Regions from separate parts of the Homo sapiens genome. Here region 1 is linked to region 2. Evidence: promoter capture Hi-C in 16 types of primary human blood cells and fetal thymus (Javierre and others, 2016). All regions are on one chromosome and are shown on one strand. Each heading gives the region's core, a stretch centred on a gene start or on the middle of the fragment in contact. The rest is flanking DNA. Distances are from core to core; before and after follow the strand shown.

Region 1 (6,297 bases), core at 2,018-4,517, 2.1 Mb before region 2:
GACCAAGAAAATCAGGTAAGGAAAATGCTCTCTGTACTACAGAGGACACTTTAGTGATGTCTACACAATAGCCATTACATGGGAAAACCAAACCAAACCAAACCTACCTGTCAACTTCACTGCTTGTTGGCCGAGCCACCTTGGCTCCTGAAGACCCTAAAGTATAATTTTCCTGTCCTACAGAACCATGGCCTGTGGTATCAATCACCATGGCTGTTACTTCCTCTGCACTACTCCCATCTTCTCCAGAAGGCTGATTCTCAGGCCCAAGCCACTCCTCCAGATTTTCAGTTTTGATGTGTACTGCTCCAAGAACTCTAACTTCATCATCACTCCGACCCCCACGGTCCGCCACTCCTGTCTCCACATACCACTGTCCTGCTCGGTTGATCCGAAGAATGGGCTCCCGGCTCTCTACATCAGAACTTGGTTCAATGATCTGAGGGCTGGTGGACTCCTCAGGAGGACTTAGCTCTCTGATATCCAGCACAGCACTAACCTGACCTCGCCGGTTTCCCTTTGGGGTATTATGTCGTGGGCTAAGGGAGCGGTTGAGATTTGGTGTAACCCTGTGAGACTCTGGAGGTCTCTCTTGATGCTTTGTCCTTGTTTGACTTAATTCTGCTTCAACCTCAGCCACATTAATTTTGAAATGAATGCCCTCCAGGATCTGTGTACATTTGTCTATAATATGCTGCATTTGCAGAAAACTGGCAGCTGTTAGGTAGCTGATGATATCTGCCAGTTGCAGGCATATCCGCCCTGTGTAACAGAAAGAAAGGAGCTGTTCAAAAACAGTAGGGTTCTTGATGACTGAAATGGAGACTGTACTCATCTCATTCAAGGACATGTGATCCCGGAAATAGGGGGAGCTGGCAGCCAGCACCACTTTGTGAGCCCGAAAAGCTTGTCCTTGCACATTGACCACAATATCACAGAGACGGCCCTGCATGCGCAACTGGTTTAGATGGCTCAGGACAGAGTTGCTGAAGTCAGGAATCTCCAATTGTATGTTCCCACCTTTCTCCATGGTCGTGCCTGAGGGTGCATTCAACCCTGCTGAAAAAAGAAACCATATTCTCATTAATAATTATAATTTTACTTCCCGGATGGTTTCCATTTCAAAAGTATTTAAACATAGTTATCTGGTAAAGTTTCAAAATCTCCAGATAAAAGAAATACCTTCCTTATATTTAGATGTGGAAACAGAATCACCAACAGGTTTTTCAGTTTAAGTTTCACAGGAGGACATAGTTAAAACTAAAAAGTGATCTTTAGACTCCTAAAAATTCATGTTATGACCATGCTTTCCTTACTAATAAGTTATATAACATCAAAACAGAAGTTCAACAGAAGGTAGGGGGAAGGACTTTTAAGTGTTAACTATAAGGTACTTGCAGACTGAATATAACATCTCATAACTTTACAACTTTTCTCTGGAGGAGGAAAGCTTTCTGAATAAATGCAATTCTACATAGCTTGATATCCCTCTTCTTAGTATTTTACTACCTGCTGCAAGAATTATGTTTATTATTTTATAAAAGGACTAATATCCCACATGAATGTAGGCTAATATTTCTAAGCTTAAGAATCAGAGCCCCCCCCACAAAAAGACTTTGGTTATAGGGCTGTGAAGCAAACTCTAGGAAAAATCCCACAGCTGTGCCAGGATTCAACCAAGATGCAGAGAATGTGAAGTTCAGTTGTCAAAATTAGGAAAGCTGGGTAAATCTGCCAAATTCGAAGTTGGCAATTCCGAGGTGGTGATGAATACTTCCATCCTGAAACTTAGTTCTCCAGATCCGATGAAAAAATACAGCATTTACCAAGTATGCCAACATTTTTCCATTAAAATATTTTTAAAAAATGGCTGAAACACTAAACCTGAAGCTGTATACAAGATAGTTGAAAGTACAGTTTCAACTACTGAAAATAGTTTGTATAAATCCGAACAGGAAGACATTTACTTAAGCCCAATGTGCGTTCACTTATCTATATATTACATAGTTACACCACACCTGAAACTTCAGGAACTTACTCTGCCAAGCTCACAGTACTGCCCCGCATTAACAACACACTTATTAAATAGGGAAGTGTATACACTGTTTTCAACAATCAACTTTAGCCAATCTGACCTTTTTCCAAAGCGTTATTGTTTGTTTTGAAACTTTTAATCCAATAAGAGCCTCTGTCGATGCCATCATGAATTCAGATGTGTTTATTTTGGAGCCTACACCAGCGCCTTTTTTGTTTGCTCTTTCCGGCAATTCCCCAGTGAGGAAGCCCCTGGAGGAAAGTCTTTCGCTACCGTCGGCACTGGAGGGGTGAGAGCTGTAAAAGGGAGAATTGGGAACGGCATGGGGTTGGCCACTCCAGCACTTGAGCAGCTTTCTTCTGCGTTAGGAAGCCTGGGGAGAGGGGAACTGGCTAAAGGGCAAAATGTCACTGAGGAACTTCGGAGAAGATGGGGACAAGGCGTCGGGCGGGGGAGCCAGCGCTCAGGTGAGAACTAGGAAGGGGGCGGCGCCCAGGGACCGGCTCCAGGCGGCGGCGGGCGGGGAGCTGCCAGGAGGTGGGTGTGCGTATCTGGGTGTGTCCCGGCTGCGGTGGGGGAGGGGGCCGCCCTTCCCGGGGTCCTGAGGGAGGGGCCCCGCGAGGGGGCGGGTCCGGCAGATCAGCCCGGCCGGGGGCCAAGGGGGTGGAAGGTCGCCCGGTGCCTGGAGGCGGGGTGAAGGAAAGTAGCTGAGCGCCCCAGGAGCGCGCTGCGGCGGAGGGCGGGCGAGGTGACCCCGGTGCAGGGAAGTGGCACTGGGGTGTGGGGCCCGAGTCCAGTCAAGGAGCAGCACCTACCTCCGGGGGTGGAAATGGGCCGGAATGGGCCGGAACACCGTCCCGGAAGTGAAATCCCCCACCCCCTCCCACGGAGCGGGCGACGTGCCGGAAGGAAATCACTCAGCCTTACACCGCCCCCCCTTCCCCCATCCCCAGAGCTTTCCTTGCCTCGCGCCCCCTCCCCTCTCTGCTCTTCCTCCTCAGTCGGGAGGAGGGCGGGAGCACGGCATCACGTGGACGGTCATGTCTCTGCCCACAATGGCGAGGAAGGGCGGGGAAAAGGGGCGGACTTAAGGGGTGGGAAGAAGGTGATACTGGATGAGAGGAAGATTGAGGGAGGTTAGGGGGAGGAGCCGAAGCGGACGCTGCCGGGAGCGTGCGTCGTGACGTCATCAAAAGAACTCTTATATACAGGAGCCCAGGCACCATACTGTCTTTTCGAGGTAGGAGTCGACTCCTGTGAGGTATGTTTTATCTTTGCGAATGTTGCGGGTTTTGGGGCGCTCCAGCCTTTGTCTGCTAAGGTCACCCTGAATTGACTGGGACTTCTAAGCCAGTCGCGCGCCTTTGCAGGGCCTACAAGTTGAGGATGGTGGGGGATTGCACATATGGTGCATGCGTGACCTAAGCTGCGACTATGTTAGAGTAGAACTGCGGAGAAGCCTCGGCTCTCGTGCCCTGCCTCTGATGAAGCCTGTGTTGGTAGGGACATCTGAGAGTAATGATGAATGCCAACCGCTCTGATGGTGGCACATGCCGAGTCACCCGAGTAAGCTATTGTTAAGGGCCGTGACCCGAGCCTCCATCAGCCGTCCGCTCTCATGAAAGGCTGTCGGTGGTAGTCCACGTGCTTAAGTGCCTGCATTCCGCAGTGTCACCAATATTTCCATTAGTGTTTCTTTTTTCTTTTTTGAGACCGAGCCTCGTTCTGTCACCCAGGCTGGAATGCAGTGGCTCGACATCGGTTAATGGCAACCTCCGCGTCCCGAGTTAAGCAGTTCTGCCTCAGCCTCCCAAGTAACTGGGACTACAGGCGCGCGCCACCATGCTAGGCTTTTATATTTTTAGTAGAGACGGGGTTTCACCATGTTGGCGAGACTGGTCTTGAACTCCTGACCTCAGGTGATCCACCAGCCGTGGTCCCCCAACATACTGGGATTACAAGCCGTGAGCCACCGCGCCCGGCCGCCATCGGTGGTTCTTAACTGCGGGTGCAGTGCTTCTTTGTAACATTAAGTGTATCCTTTACCTGTCGCTAGATAATGAATGGTATGTTACCTGCATCATTGGTTTAAAAAGACGAACCGTTTTTTTAAAGAACACTCTTTAAAAAAAAGAACCGTGGAACAATGAATTAAAATCTGTACCTGATCTCTTTAGGTATGGTGCTGGGTGCAGATGCAGTGTGGCTCTGGATAGCACCTTATGGACAGGTAAGAATTGGGGAAAGTATGGTGGGAAGAATGAAATCTAAGAGGTGGTCTCAGCCTGTGATGCTTTAAGAGTAGTGGACAGAAGGGATTTCTGAAATTCTATTCTGAGGCTTTAATGTTAACAGCATTTATATTTAACGTGACTGCTGTGAGGTTCATTCTCACTGTTTTGCTTGCATCTTTTTGTTTTCTAGTTGTGTCCCCAAGGAAGGATGAGAATAGCTACTGAAGTAAGTTGAAAATTCCCTCTCAAAAAGGTTTAAAGCCATTGGATGTGCCACAATGATGACAGTTTATTTGCTACTCTTGAGTGCTAGAATGATGAGGATCTTAACCACCATTATCTTAACTGAGGCACCCAAAATGGTGAGTTGGGGAACATAGAGAGTACACCTAAGTTCACATGAAGTTGTTTCTTCCCAGGTCCTAAAGAGCAAGCCTAACTCAAGCCATTGGCACACAGGTGAGACACCTCTATTTTGTACTTCTCACTTTTAAGGGATTAGAAAATAGCCAAAGCAATGATGATTATCTATGTTAGTGCTTCTCTCCCCTCTTTTCAAATGAGAATTTTGCTCTCATATTGATACTAAGTTTAATACTGAAGAAAATGTGAAAACAGATACTATGATGGTTGCATAGTTCAGCAGATTTAATCATGAAGAGATGTACTATCTGTCTGATGTATCTGGGGTAGTTGTGGTTTGCTGTTAATGGTTAAGCAGTGTACCACCAATCTACCATTAAAATATTTTTTGCTGACAATTTTGTATTAAAATTACAGGCATTAGACAGAAAGCTGGAAGTTGAAATGGTAAGTGAAACTGTATCCAAGTAAGCAGGTAACTGGGCAAACTTCCTACGGCACAAATGGCTTTTTAGTTACCTCCTAGTGCTGAATGCATTAAATAAATGGCGGATTCTTGTCTTGTTATGATTAATAAGAAAGTTTGTAAATGCAGCCTGGATGATGATAAGCAAATGCTGACTGAACATGAAGGTCTTAATTAGCTCTAACTGACTAAAGGCATTTGTTAGTTTTGGCAGGGGGTGAACACTCATCTGTGGCTATTCTAAGACCACTCTTATTTCTTAGGTGGAGTCCAACTTGCCTGGACCAGCTTAATGGTTCTGGTAAGTATTAATGAAAACAGTAGATAGACTTAATGAAAATGCTGATGGTGATATGCTTACTGCTGAGCTAATGGCTTAAGGCTTGGCTGATGAATACTGACTGTATTTTCCTTGAGCATGTCTGGAACAGTGTTTATGTGTTTTCCTTGAGCATGTTTGGAACGGGGTTTGTGTAATGATGTTGATCAAATGTCTGACCTGAAATGAGCATGTAGACAAAGGTAACACTGAAGAACCCTGTGACAGACAACTTTGAAAAGAGTTTAATGATGTTTAGCATTTTAATGGAAGTCCTCATTTGTATTCCAGCTCCTGGTAACGTTTTTATCCATGGATGACTTGCTTGGGTAAGGACATGAAGACAGTTCCTGTCATACCTTTTAAAGGTACATGTTTTATTGATGTTAACGTTAATTGATTGAGCTACTGTTAGTGATGATTTTAAAATTAAAGCAGATGGGAATCTCTCTGAGAAAGAAAATGGAGATTAATCTTAAACTGAAACAGTAGTTGGGAAATCTTTTAGAAATCCACCTATTACTACCTATTGGTAAAGGAGATTAAATTTCTACAGGTATGGAGAGTCGGCTTGACTACACTGTGTGGAGCAAGTTTTAAAGAAGCAAAGGTATAGCAGTTCCAAGTATTTTTTTTTTTTTTTTAGACAAGAGTCTAGCTCTTGCCCAGAATGGAGTGCAGCGGCACTATCAGTTCACTGCAACCTCTGCCTCCCAGGTTCAAGGAATTCTCCTGCCTCAGCCTCTTGAGTAGCTGGGATTACAGGCATGTGACACCATGCCTGGCTAATTTTGTACAGCTATGTTGTCCAGGCTGGTCTCGAACTCTTGACCTCAAGTGATACTGCCCGCACTGACCTCCCAAAGTGCTGGGATTACAG
Region 2 (6,161 bases), core at 1,577-4,076:
TTCATCTACCTGGAGACAAAAAGAGGGCTGAACTATTTTGTTTTTATTCACACTGTCATGAAATCCATTTAGGAGTTGAGGTCAGCATTAGAAAAGCGTTATTAATGAATCTGGATAGAGGATTTAAAAGCATTCAAAATCAAAACTAAAATAAACTAATATCATATTTATATAACACCAAGGCACTCTAAGCATGAAAAGCTTATGGTTAACTACATGATATCTGTATACTTCTTCTCCAAACTAATTGAGTTACATGCTTACAAGAGTCAATTTGCATTTGTACTCCAAAGTATTTATGCCTATTATACTTATAGAATATATTTAAATATGTAAACTAATGAAATACAAATAGAAAGTTATTTTCTATAAAAACTAAATTGATAAACATGAACAACAAACAAAAATTACTATAGAACTAGGCACAGGTAAGACAAACCTGTAAAACTTTGGAGAAAAAATTGTACAAAAATCTAGACTGACTGGGCATTCAAATTGCTTGAAAGGTGTCTTTAACTTCTTATTCCACTTTGAAGAAAATGAAACTGTAAACTGTAAACAATGCAACTTGTAACAAAGACAAAGCAGGTGTTCCAACCAGCAAATTCATGCTCAGATAAAAGGTCTTGGGCCTACTACCAAGACTGGTGAGTGAACATATACATTTGAGTCAAAATAAAATGACTAAAGTATATATTTGCCATTTTTAAATATGTACCACTGTAACTGACTTTTTAAATTAACTGGTCCAGTGGTCCCAATTTTAGGGGAAGAGAGTGCCTCTACCATTGTTTTAATTGAAAAACTGATATACATGGTAAAGATATTCCAATAGTACAAAACACTACACATCAAGAAAGTTTCCCTTCTGTATTAGTCTTCTAGGGCTGCTATAATGAAATACCATGGACTAGGTGGCTTAACTACAGAAATTTATTTTCTCACAGTCCTAGAGGCTAAAAGTCCAGGATCAAGGAGTCATCAGGGTTGGCTTATGGTGTGGCCTCTCTTTCTGGACTGCAAATGGCCATCTTCTGTGTTCTCATATGGCCTCTTCTCTGTGCCCATGCACTCAGACACTAGCCCTACAGGATTAGGGTTTTGCCTTTTTGATTTCATTTAACCTTAATTATTGTCCTAAAGGCCCTATCTCCAAATCTAGTCACACTGGAAGTTAAGACTTCAACATATGAATTTTGAGGGGACATAATTCAGTCCATAACACTTTCCATGCCAGATTCACAGTCCTCCTGGTGTGTGTGTGTGTGTGTGTGTGTGTGTGTGTGTGATGCTCAAATGGAAGTAGAGTCTACACACTATTTTGCACCTTACTTTTCTCACCTTATAGCATCATAGAGGTATTCCATGTCAGCACATATAGATCTATCTAGTTCATTTTAATGGCTGCATACTATTCTATTGAATGGCTAGACTATGACTCATTTCAGCAATTTCCTATTGCTGAACATTTAGAGTTTTTTTTTTCACTCTGTTACAAAAATCCTGTAACAGATATTTTTATAGAATACTTTTATATACAACCTGTATACCCATGGGATAAATTTTAGAAGTAAAATTATTAGATCAAAAAGAACTTCATATAAAATTTTGATACATATAATTACCATGAAATTTTTAAAAATGCACCAATTTTTATACTCTTACTGTTTAAGAATGCTTGTTCCTCCCACGCTGCTCCCATACCACACATACACACACCCAATATTGTAGTATCAAATTTTTTTTATTTTTGCTATTGAGCTAACACAAAAGATCAAACTGTCAAATCAGGCTCAAATCAGAGATTTTACTCAGTATCAAGCTTTACTAATAGTTTCAAGGATACCAGTAATCCCCAGGTCCTTTCTTCTTGCTTTGGATGCATCCTGGCCCAGGACAGTAGATGTGGTTTCTAAATCAAGTGTACAGTCACCCCACTTACACAGAAGGAGCCAAATCAGTTACAAAACACTTCCATTTTATGCTACGTTACATAACTTCCGCGGTATTTTCCAGTTAATCATACCCCTGAAATCCGCATTGATTCTTTTTTGTTTTGTGAGAGGGAGTCTCATTCTGTTGACCAGGATGGAGGGCGGTGGCGCGATCTCTGCTCACTGCAACCTCCGCATCTCCAGTGCAAGCTATTCTTCTGCCTCAGCCTCCTGAGTAGCTGGTGTTACAAGTGTACACCACCACACTCAGCTAATTTTTGTAGTTTTGGTAGAGACGGGGTTTTGCCATGTTGGCCAGGCTGGTAACTCCTGACCTCAAGTGATCCACCTGCCTCAGCCTCCCAAAGTGCTGGAATTACCACATCGATTCTTAATGTGTTTACCATAAACAATCCCAGCCCTGGGACATCCTGTTAGAGGAATTCCGTAAATATGGACTCTCTTGCTAGCAAATGCCATTAGTTTGTTTGCCAGGAGGTCTGTAATTAGTATATACTTTATATTTTATAAAAATCACATGCTTTTTTGCTTGCTTTAACCTTGCTTTCCTGAGAGTATTTCCCTACGAAGGGAGAGACTGGATTGCAGATCTTCTGCTCAACTCCTTCTTTCTCAGTCACTGATAGATGAAAAATGGTATTTCCTTGTTCACTTTTACATTTTAAGTAATGTTGAACATTTAGCAACAAAATATTGAAAGCTAGAAGGGAGATGAATCAAGATGCAATTGCCTTAGCAGACTTGAAAAGTAGGAATCCCAAGCAGGCCATGAAGCAACCTGATACACACAGTGAAACCCTGTATAAGGCTCAGGAATTGGAAACACCACGTAAAGCTGAAGAGAGCATGATGTGAGCTATAAATACAGGCGGAATGGTATAAAGTCTGTTTAAGAATGAATCAGATGCTGAGATTCCCTTTGCTATCCCATCAAAAACCCAGAGATTTAGTCCTGAAAGACAGCAAAACGCTGATTCTCTAGCTAGGAGGACAGCAGGCCCTCTTAAGGATGAAGGTGTCATGTTGAAAAAGGGGAAAAGAAAATTAGAGGACTAACATCTGAATAACTGAAGCTCACTAAAAAGAAAATGGAGGAAATAAGTAACTCAAGTTGCTTGGAGTTCTGACTCTAAGCTCAGTGCTATTATAATCTTTTAGGCTTACTGGTATATTTGATTCATGTTAACTGTAAAATGACATTTTCTAAGTTTCACAAATATTGGGGTTAGTCAAAGGGACTTTGTTCAGGTGATTAAGGGTGGGGCTTGCATTACCCCTCTCCTAAGCGATCATTCCAAAATGACTGGCAGGACTAAAGAATTATGTTTAAAAAACAAAAAAACCCAAAGAATGGATTATCTGTAAAAGCTATGCAATGACGTGCCTGTTAGAGCTCACTGACCACACCTTAAGTTGTCTAAGAGATGAGGCTATAACTAGCTAAACTCTAATTGGCTAAGGCACCAAAGCCAGAAAATAGCCCATAACATGCAAATATACAGACATAAAATCAACTGTAAGTGCTGGGCACAGCTGCTCATGCCTGTAATCCCAGCTACTTGGGAGGCAGAGGCAGGAAGATCACTTTAGCTCAGGAGTTCAGAGCTGCTGTGCGCTATGATTGTGTCACTGCACTCCAGCCTGGGGGAAGAAGTGAGACTTCATCTCAAAAAAAAAAAAAAGATCAGCTGTAGAAGAAAAAATAATGTCAGGGTTACCTGTGGAGTCTGGGGGTAGACCCACTATCACACCTAGACAGGGATACAAACCATGAGAGGCTTCTCTTCTAAGTGGGCCGTTTCAGTCCAAGTTGCTGACTTGGACAGCAACTTGGACTGAATAAACACAGGCAACTGAGTTTAGCATTAAGCTTTCAGAACCTTCAACTGACAACTCAACGGCTGTTTCTAAATCTCAGAACATTTAAATCAGAATCTAGGTAGCACGTGGGCACCTACGTAGTTTTAAAAGCTTTCCAAGTGATTCAACTCCAAGTGAATCAGAGTGGAGCATCGTTGCCTTAGTCATGGCATCTTTCAAATTCGTTAGTACATTTTTACATAAAAATAAACATCAAACAAAAGAAGAACAACTTTTTGGTAAGAGGGTGTCTATTCTTTCCTTTCCTTTAGTGTCCGCAGATCTTTCCTCCTGCTGTTTTCTTGTCTACTCTTGTTCTTGAACACCCCCTCTTATTTTTATGTCTTTAGAAAGTGCCTGGCACAGTATTTCAGACAGTTAAAATACTGTATCAACAAAGGACCCATAGATACTGTATTAATTTTAAAAGATGTGTAGTGAATATGATTCAATGAGTAAAATAATCCAGCTGGGGCGTGGGAGGAACGGATAATAAAACAAATAAGAGAACGGAAAAACAAAATTAGGAATTGTTTCTGGTAGACAGCTACTGCGGGCGTGGAGATCTAAACATGATACCAAATTGGGCGGAGGGGGAGGGAGTGAGGAAGGAATGGGCAGAGTGGCGGAATGGCCTGGCGAGGGCGATTTCCTGAAGGCTTTCAGGTTACAACTAAGGGATACCGGGAAAAGAACACCGAGCCCTCGTCCCGTATCTATCTAAACTAGCCGTGTTAACTTTAAGTCAATCTCCTCTCTGAACCAGATATTCCTCCTATCTAAAGGGAGGAGCCTGGCCTTAACATCTCTTTCCAAGTCTAGCTCTAATTCTGTAAACAGGGGATCAAACAGATCTCCTTTCTTCAGAAAAGGCCCCAGACGAACCCGAAGCAGGTCCTCGAGCTGCGAGCCACTCTCCACTTGCCACTCAACGTAGTCAGCCAGAGGGACGGATGTGCCACCAAGCACCACCTTCTTTCTAACGCCTCATCACCCCAGCCACGCACTCCGGCGCGGCGCCCAGTCCCGAGCGGTTCTCGGAAGTTTCCCACTCCTCCCCTAATCGCCCTCCACGCACGCCGGATCACGACCGGAACGTGGACAACCAGTGGTTGTTCCTCCCCTAAAGCACAGCATAAATTTGGAGAGATGCATCTAAACTGCGTGTGGGTTCGGGCTCTTTTAGGTGAATAGGGCTCGGCGGATCGACTTCCTCGATTATCTCCGTGCCCTGGACCCGCCCCCTCCGCCTGGCGCCAGGCCGCCGAGCGCCGATCGGCTCGATGAGCGGAGGCGCTGCTGCGGCGCTGCGGCCGACGCCGGGTCCGCACCAACTGTCTCCCCCTCCCAGCTTCTTACCTCGGCTTCCTACTCCTTCCCCCGCCCGCCCAGCACCGCCAGCCCGGGAGAGCTGCCGGGAGTTCCCCGGGAGCCTCAGGTACTGGCGCTGGCCTGTTCGCAGCGGGAGGGGCTGGTGTGAGGAGGAAGGAAACGAAGAAGACGCCCCTGCCTTGCCGCCCCCCGACGTCCTAGTCGGGCTGGTCGGCGGGCCTCGGGGATCTAGGAAGGGACCCCGGAGTGGGAAAAGGTTGGGGCCGGGGGTGCCGTGAGGAAGGAAGACGAGGACAGGGGTATGCGGACGAGGAGCAGTTGAGGGAGAGAAGAATTGGAATTGAGGGGTACTCTGGGGTGATGGGAAGAGAACAGTACCATGGATGGGGAAGGTTTGTTAAGAGTGGGATGTAGTGAGGAATTCCAGGGGGTACAATGGGGCAGGAAGGGCCAGCGTTAGGAGCAGATATATCGTGGGACGTGGCCTGGTGTGACAGATTGGGTGTGGGGGGTGAACGGAGCTGCCTGAAATTGTGTATTTAAAGGGCCCGGGGGAAAGAGCGCCAACCCTGCTGTGTTTATAATGACCGGAAGGTGGGGGTGAATCGTTACACTTGACAGGTTTTGCAAATAATATCTCCGGTCTGTGTCCATCCAAGTCACTTTATTTCTGTGAAACTGCATCAAGCAAGAAGGCTGATGACAGACAAGGAAGACGAATCAGAAAGAGAATGGAGGCTGGGAAAAGGAGAGCCTTTGCCCAGATTCAAAGCTATTGACTAGATAACGTACTACTTACAAAAACGCACACATAGACATTTAAGTATATGCTGATGTATAAGAAGCATACGGTGATGTGACTCATTTGAGTGAATTGTATAGTGGTGGTCTATCCTCAATGTGGAAGTACATGATGGCTCTCTTATTTACATGTATACCTAGTCACAAACAGCTGAATTCACATGTCTTTTTTTGTAGGAGAAATCTTAGGCAGACTATATCCTAGTCTACTTT

What was found. The method cuts DNA at HindIII sites, captures the fragments that hold promoters and counts their contacts. A CHiCAGO score of 5 or more calls a contact.
Region 1: a contact is called between the fragment with the promoter of GAS5 here and a fragment that was not itself captured in region 2, in 1 of 17 cell types (non-activated CD4 T cells). The highest score is 5.8, in non-activated CD4 T cells.

What each region holds. Positions count from the first base shown.
Region 1 is chr1:173,864,959-173,871,255 of GRCh38, reverse strand. It overlaps GAS5 (growth arrest specific 5), which reads left to right and starts at 3,267. Exons shown (of 12, transcript NR_002578.4): 1 at 3,267-3,296; 2 at 4,213-4,265; 3 at 4,460-4,495; 4 at 4,689-4,728; 5 at 5,050-5,079; 6 at 5,362-5,399; 7 at 5,709-5,785; 8 at 5,974-6,027. ZBTB37 (zinc finger and BTB domain containing 37) reads right to left here and starts at 2,876. Exons shown (of 5, transcript NM_001122770.3): 1 at 2,851-2,876; 2 at 2,136-2,331; 3 at 108-1,056. The coding sequence starts at 1,030. SNORD75 (small nucleolar RNA, C/D box 75) reads left to right here and starts at 4,318; the gene lies at 4,318-4,377. SNORD74 (small nucleolar RNA, C/D box 74) reads left to right here and starts at 3,511; the gene lies at 3,511-3,582. It also overlaps SNORD79, SNORD78, SNORD44, SNORA103, SNORD77 and SNORD76. RefSeq lists enhancers at 984-1,083, 1,598-2,797 and a silencer at 2,432-2,841. The HindIII fragment of the contact is 5,638 bases long and covers 1,586-6,297 here.
Region 2 is chr1:171,741,002-171,747,162 of GRCh38, reverse strand. It overlaps VAMP4 (vesicle associated membrane protein 4), which reads left to right and starts at 5,098. Exons shown (of 8, transcript NM_003762.5): 1 at 5,098-5,253. The HindIII fragment of the contact is 2,003 bases long and covers 1,825-3,827 here.